2 separate regions of the Homo sapiens genome follow, and region 1 is linked to region 2. The links are contacts of gene promoters, found by promoter capture Hi-C in human tissues and cell types (Jung and others, 2019). All regions are on one chromosome and are shown on one strand. The core of a region is centred on a gene start or on the middle of the fragment in contact, and the rest is flanking DNA. Distances in the headings are between cores, read along the strand shown.

Evidence for each region. Contacts are between HindIII fragments. The study calls those that stand out against the background at their distance.
Region 1: a contact is called between a fragment that was not itself captured here and the fragment with the promoter of PHKG2 in region 2, in 2 of the 25 tissues and cell types used here (dorsolateral prefrontal cortex and spleen).

Annotation. Positions count from the first base shown.
Region 1 is chr16:30,940,354-30,943,663 of GRCh38, forward strand. FBXL19 (F-box and leucine rich repeat protein 19) reads left to right here. Exons shown (of 11, transcript NM_001382779.1): 8 at 1,763-1,926; 9 at 2,022-2,183. Among named protein-coding and RNA genes, the nearest start is that of ORAI3, 7.1 kb to the right of the region's middle. RefSeq lists a silencer at 1,657-1,786 and an enhancer at 2,211-3,153. The HindIII fragment of the contact is 5,049 bases long and covers 1-3,310 here.
Region 2 is chr16:30,746,414-30,749,696 of GRCh38, forward strand. PHKG2 (phosphorylase kinase catalytic subunit gamma 2) reads left to right here and starts at 2,012. Exons shown (of 10, transcript NM_000294.3): 1 at 2,012-2,077; 2 at 2,390-2,502. The coding sequence starts at 2,408. RefSeq lists silencers at 1,759-2,058, 2,099-2,238. The HindIII fragment of the contact is 8,703 bases long and covers 1-3,283 here.

The sequences.
Region 1 (3,310 bases), core at 23-2,522, 190 kb after region 2:
AGGTTGCAGTGAGCTGTGATCGCAGTACTGCACCCCAGCCTGGGTGACTAAGCAAGACACTGTCTCAAGAAAAAAAAAAAAAAGCTTCCTGGGCCTGCTGCTTCTGACACAGTCTATTGAGTCTCAGAGGCATTTCTGGACATGCCTTTGAGAACTACTGAACTCAGAGAAGAGAGTTCTCAAACTGAGTCCAAAGGAACTTCAGTGTACTACAAAATGTTACTAGATTACCTTGGGAGAGGTGGGGAAGGATTCCTGGGGAAGTACGTTTGAGAGGCCCTTCTCCAGTTCACTGCATGTTTTTTGTTTGTTTGTTTGTTTGTTTGTTTTTGAGATGGAGTCTCTCACTGTTGCCCCAGCTGGTGTGCAGTGGTGCGATCTCGGCTCGCTGCAATCTCCGCCTCCCGGGTTCAAGTAATTCTCCTGCCTCAGCCTCCCGAGTAGCTAGGATTACAGGCGCCCGCCACCATGCCCAGCTAATTTTTTGTACTTTTAGTAGAGACAGGGTTTCACTAGTAGAACAGCCAGGCTGTTCTCGAATTCCTGACCTCATGATCCACCCACCTCGGCCTCCCAAAGTGCTGGGATTACAGGTGTGAGCCACTGCACCCAGCCCACTGCATGTTAGATAGTCTGTTGAGGCCTGTGGAGTGCTCGGGTTAGGAAACCTGTTTAATGTTGCTTAGGACTCGTTCATCTTTGTAGCTTCAATACTTGGGACCTATAACGCTTTCTATAATCAGAGTGAATAAATGAAATGCTGTAGATGAGGAGGTGGGGGAGAGTGGTCAGTGGAAGCTTTAAGTAGTTACTAGCTTGATTCATTCATTACAAATGGGCAGCTGGGTGCAGTAGCTCATGCCTGTAATCCCAGTGTTTTGGGAGGCCAAGGCAGGAGGATCGCTTGAGGCCAGGAGATCAAGACCAGCCTAGGCAACATAGTGAGACCCTGTCTCTACAAAAAAATTGTTTAAAAATTAGCCAGGCGTGGTGACATGTGCCTGTGGTCCCAGCTACTCAGGAGGCTGAGGTGGGAGGATTGCTTGAGCCCAGTAGGTTGAGGCTGCGGTGAGCCTGAGTCCAGCCTGGGTTACAGAGTGAGACCCTGTCTCAAAAAAAATTTTTTTTCAAAAAGTGGAAAACGCAAATCTGCCCTTGTGGAATTTACATTGTAGTTGGAGGAACACAGTAATGTAATAGGGAAGATATTAGGGCTGTAAGTCCAGCTGCGGGCAGCTGGCTGTCAAGATGGGACAGGTGTGGATCAGAAGCAGAGATGAGTAAAGGAGGCAAGGACCCATGAGCACCAGAACTCAGTCAGGAATCAAGAAGCCCAAGGGTGGCTGGAGACGACTGGATAACACCAGTCCCCTTGGCATGACATCAGGCAGCATGCGTGGCATTTGTGTATGTGTTGGGCAGCACACTTTCTATGCTGGGAGGCCCACAGCTGGGATGAGCCCATGTGACCTGACAGCTGCCCTGTGGGCAGGCAGAGTGGGGGGGCTATTGCCTTCAATCATAAACGAGGCTTCTGAGGCTCAGGGAGAGGAACAGACTTGCCCAGGGTCTCATTTCCAGTTAGTGATGGAGTTGGGTTCCAATCCCAGTGCTCTTGGCTGAGGTCAGGTGCTTCTTGCTACCCTGTTGTCTGTGTGGCCAGAAGAGAGCTGGGGTGCACCCTTGGAGCTGGGGAGCCTGGGAACTGTGGGCTGCTGAGAGCTGAGGGCTGAGGTCTCTGTCTCCCCCCTATGGCCGCCAGGTGCTATGACAAGCGTCTGTGGCCTCGAATGGACCTGAGCCGGCGGAAGTCACTGACCCCGCCCATGCTCAGTGGTGTGGTTCGCCGCCAGCCCCGTGCCCTGGACCTCAGCTGGACAGGTGTCTCCAAGAAGCAGCTCATGTGGCTTCTGAACCGACTACAAGGTAGGGTGTGTGGTACGGAGGACAGGGTGGGGACAGGGACAGGCCTGGGATGGAGTCCTCACAGCACCTGCTTCCTGACTGCCCCCTCTCCGCAGGCCTGCAGGAGCTGGTGCTCTCTGGCTGCTCCTGGCTCTCTGTCTCTGCCCTGGGCTCAGCCCCACTGCCAGCCCTGCGGCTCCTGGACCTCCGCTGGATCGAGGATGTTAAAGACTCCCAGCTCCGGGAGTTGCTGCTGCCTCCACCAGACACCAAACCAGGTGCAACCTCTGTTTGCTTTTCTGGAGAATGGGCTGGGCAAGGGTAGGGTAGGAGGCCTCTCAGGTCTCTTCTGACTCATGCTGGATGGTAAAGTATTTGAAGAAAGGAAAGAATACATGAGTTTGAATAGGAAGGCCCTGGTTGGGCATTATTCATTCATTCACCCACCTGCTGTGTACTTTGAACTGAGTCTTGAAAGGAACAGGGTTTTCCCAGGGAGTGTGAGACTCAGCAGTTTGGTGGGGCAGGAGGCCCATATTGGCAGAGGGGGATGCTGGGAGCAGAGGCCATCTCTCTTCATCTACTTAAATCTCATCATCCTTTAGGCCTGGGTATAAATGCCACTTCCTCCAAGAAGCTCTCCCTGATCCCACCCCACATTGAGCTCAGAGTCCCTCTCAGCTTTGAGAGCAGCCCGCCAGCATAATACTGGGCAATTGTGGAGTGCCTTGATGCACATCTGTGCCCTCCTGCCAGGGTCTCCAGCTCCCTGAGGGCAAGCGCTGGCTGGTCCCCCAGCACGTTCTCAGTGGCTGCTCCATAGATAGCTGTTGAATGAATAACTTGAATGAGCAATCAGGATGGGAGAGGTCTAGTTTGAGGAAAGATTTTCAAAAGGAGATTTGCAGTCCCCTGAAATAAGATAATCCTTTTGTTTGTTTTTGTTTTTTGAGACCATCTGGCTCTGTCACCCAGACTGGAGTGCAGTGGCAAGATCTCGGCTTACTGCAACTTATGCCTCCTGGGTTCAAGTGATCCTCCCCACCTCAGCCTCCTGAGTAGCTGGGCCTACAGGCGTGTGCCACCACGCCTGGCTAATTTTTTTGTAATTTTTTTTTTTTTTTTTTTTTTTTTGAGGTGAAGTCTTGCTCTGTCGCCCAGGCTGGAGTGCAGTGGTGCTATCTCGGATCACTGCAAGCTCCACCTCCCGGGTTCACGCCATTCTCCTGCCTCAGCCTCCCAAGTAGCTGGGACTACAGGCGCCCGCCACCACGCCTGGCTAATTTTTTGTATTTTTAGTAGAGACGGGGTTTCACTGTGTTAGCCAGGATGGTCTTGATCTCCTGACCTCATGATCCGCCTGCCTCGGCCTCCCAAAGTGCTGGGATTACAGGTGTTAGCCACC
Region 2 (3,283 bases), core at 762-3,261:
TTTGAGATGGAGTCTCGCTCTGTCACCCAGGCTGAAGTGCAGTGGTGTGATCTCACTGCAACCTCTGCCTTCTGGGTTCAAGTGATTCTCCTGCCTCAGCCTCCTGAGTAGCTAGGATTACAGGCGTGTGCCACCACGCCCGGCTAATTTTTGTATTTTTAGTAGAAATGGGATTTCACCATTTGGTCAGGCTGGTCTCGACCTGACCTTGTGATCCACCCACCTCAGCCTCCCAAAGTGCTGGTATTACACGCGTGAGTTAACCGTGCCTAGCCGACGAATGTTTTAACGTAAATAAACCTGTGTAGTCAGTCACTCACCACCTATAGGAATATAACATTTGCAGCACATCAGCAAGTTCCCTCATGCTCTTCATTATTATTTTTATCCCCGATATTGACCTATGGAAACCCTTTCAATCTGGTTCCTGTGTCCTTGTGATAAGCCCCGCTCATTAGTAATGTCTGGCACAAATCACTCCAGACTCACCTTGTACTTTCCCTGCTGAAGCCTAGAAATTGGCCATTTCTCCTGAAAAGACTTAGTTCCTTTTATTGGGTACTGTTATTGAGAAATCAGCATCTAGACACTAGGCGTTCTACTGGGAAGTTACTGCTTAGGGCATTCTGAAAGCAGAGGTAAGAGCCAGTAAATAGTTAATGTTATCTACTTTACATCTTTTAAAAATCTTTTTAAAAATTCCAGTCAATCATAGGGTTCTTTCTCCACTTTCCCCATTCCAGATTCCAGATTCCAGATTCCCACAGTTAAGAACCTTGGCTTCCAGTCACATCAATATATTGATTACTCAGCTTCAGAATTATTATCCTGTTATATTACCAAACAACAAATCTAAGTAAAGTTCAAGATTTTTTGCAATTTTGCCTTTAGATTGATGGTATAGAGTCATAGTACTCTATAAAAAGTTACCTGAATTCATTTTTCTTCCCTCATAATTGTAATCCCAAAGTGTCATTTCTAAGATAGCTGTAGGGAGATAAGTTAATTCTTTTCCTCTTTGGCTGGAACATAACCTCCACAGGGTAGGGGTGTGTGTGTTGTTTCATTGCTCTCAGTCTAGTTCCTAGGTCTTAGACGGTCATAAAAATTTGTTAGTGAATGCCAGGTTTGAGCTATGCACTGAGTCACTCCTGGCAGAATCTAACAACCTGGTGGGTTTAGAACAGAGTGTGATACAAGGCTTTTGGGAGAGGGTGGAAGATTGAGAAAGTGTGTAAATCCCAGATAGTAAACGCTAGGGCTTTGGATGTATTTAGGAGGAGTTGAAGCGGACACAGAAAAGGCTTCCTCTGGCATTTTAAGTCCGAACTAAGAGGCCAAGCTGGAGTCCAAGCTGCGTGTGTCCAAATGTTTTAAGGGCTGGAGTGTACTCAGGACAGGCGCTTTGGGCCAGGCTGCTAATATTGAAAAGAGCTTGCTGGGCGTTGTGGCTCAAGCCTGTAATCCCAGCATTTTGGGAGGCTGAGGCGGGAGGATCGCTTGAGCCCCGAAGTTCAAGGCTGCAGTGAGCTATGATCGCGCCACTACACTGCAGCCTCAGCGTGGGCTACAGAGCGAGACCCTGTCTGAAAAAAGAGAAAATGCTGAATTCAGTTAGGGATGCTTGGAGGAGACCGAGGGAACCCTGCTCAAGTCTGGGAACTAGAGGCGCGGGAAGGTCCTGCTTCCCCGCCACCCAGAGATCACGTTTCCCAGTAAACCCAACTTCCGGGTCCCATTCCAGGCCTCCAAGCCCACGTGACAACAAGCTCCGCCCTCTGCTGTCCCGCAGATGCCACTCGGTGATTGGCCGCGTCTGAAGCCGCGCCCCGGCGTCGCGTTGCAGCCTTAGGTCCAGCCGAGCGCCGACTCACGCCCCAGCCCCAATTGGGCGGCCGGTTTCCAATTGGAAGGGCTTCTGAGCCTCAGTCTTCGGGCGGCGCTGACCATTGGCGGGCAGGATGGAGGCGGAGCCTTGGGTTGTCGCCCGCCGCCGGGGGTTAAGGTGAGCGACTGCAGGCAAACCCGGCGACAGCGCAGCTCGCGTCGACCCTGGCTCCTCTGCCTGCCCCCTCAGGTGAGCCTGCGCTAGACCCCCGTCCCCTTCCTGCGCCCGCCCGAATGCGCCTGCGCGGCAACAGCCGCCTGCCCTTGCGCCCCTTCCCCCTGCCTCCTGGGCACATCTCCCCACTCCCCTCCCTGCCCTGCCATCCTCCCGCCCCCAGGCTCTTCTGCGGGGTCTCCCCAGTCCGGGTCCTTCCCCCACCCCCCCCCACCCCCCAGGACCCTGGCGCCCCAGCTGCAAGGGCTGCGCCCCCGGGAGCCGCCATGCGGGTCGTCTCAGAGCCTGTGGGCCTCCCTGCCCTCACTGCCCTCCTCCTCCGCGCAGGCCCCCGCCTCCTTCAGGATGACGCTGGACGTGGGGCCGGAGGATGAGCTGCCCGACTGGGCCGCCGCCAAAGAGTTTTACCAGAAGTACGACCCTAAGGACGTCATCGGCAGGTAAGGCCGCGGCCAGGGAAACGGAGGTCCAAAGAGGTCGAGCCCCAGCATTCCCGCTTCCGTTTGAAGGCTGGAGAGTTCGCGGGTGGTGGTGGTGGTGGTGGTGGTGGTGGTGGTGGTGGTGGTGGTGGTGGTGGTGGTGGTGGTGGTGGTGGTGGTGGTGGTGGTGGTGGTGCTGCTGCTGCTGCTGCTGCTGGTGGTGCTGGTGCTGGTGGTGGTGGTGCTGGTGCTGGTGGTGGTGCTGGTGGTGGTGGTGCTGGTGGTGGTGCTGGTGGTGGTGCTGGTGGTGGTGTGTGTGTGTGTGTGTGTCTTTCGGTGGTGGTGGTGCTGGTGCTGGTGGTGCTGGTGGTGGTGGTGTGTGTGTCTGTGTGTGTGTGTGTGTCTTTCAAGTTCAGGTTTTCTCAGGAGAAGACTGGATAGTTGGTTTTGTTTGTTTGTTTGTTTGTTTTTGAGACGGAGTCTCGCTCTGTCGCCCAGGCCGGAATGCAGTGGCGCGATCTCGGCTCACTACAACCTCTGCCTCCTGGGTTCAAGTGATTCTCCTGCCTCAGCCTCCCGAGTAGCTGGGATTACAGGCGCGCGCCACCACGCCGGCTAATTTATATTTTTAGTAGAGGCGGGCGTTTCACCATATTGGCCACGCTGGTCTTGAACTCCTGATCTCGTGATCTGCCCGCCTCAGCCTCCCAAAGTGCTGGGATTACAGGCGTGAGCCACCGCGCCTGGTTGACTGAATAGTTCTAAATGGGAAGAATCAGTGATCAGTGGAGAACACCTAGTG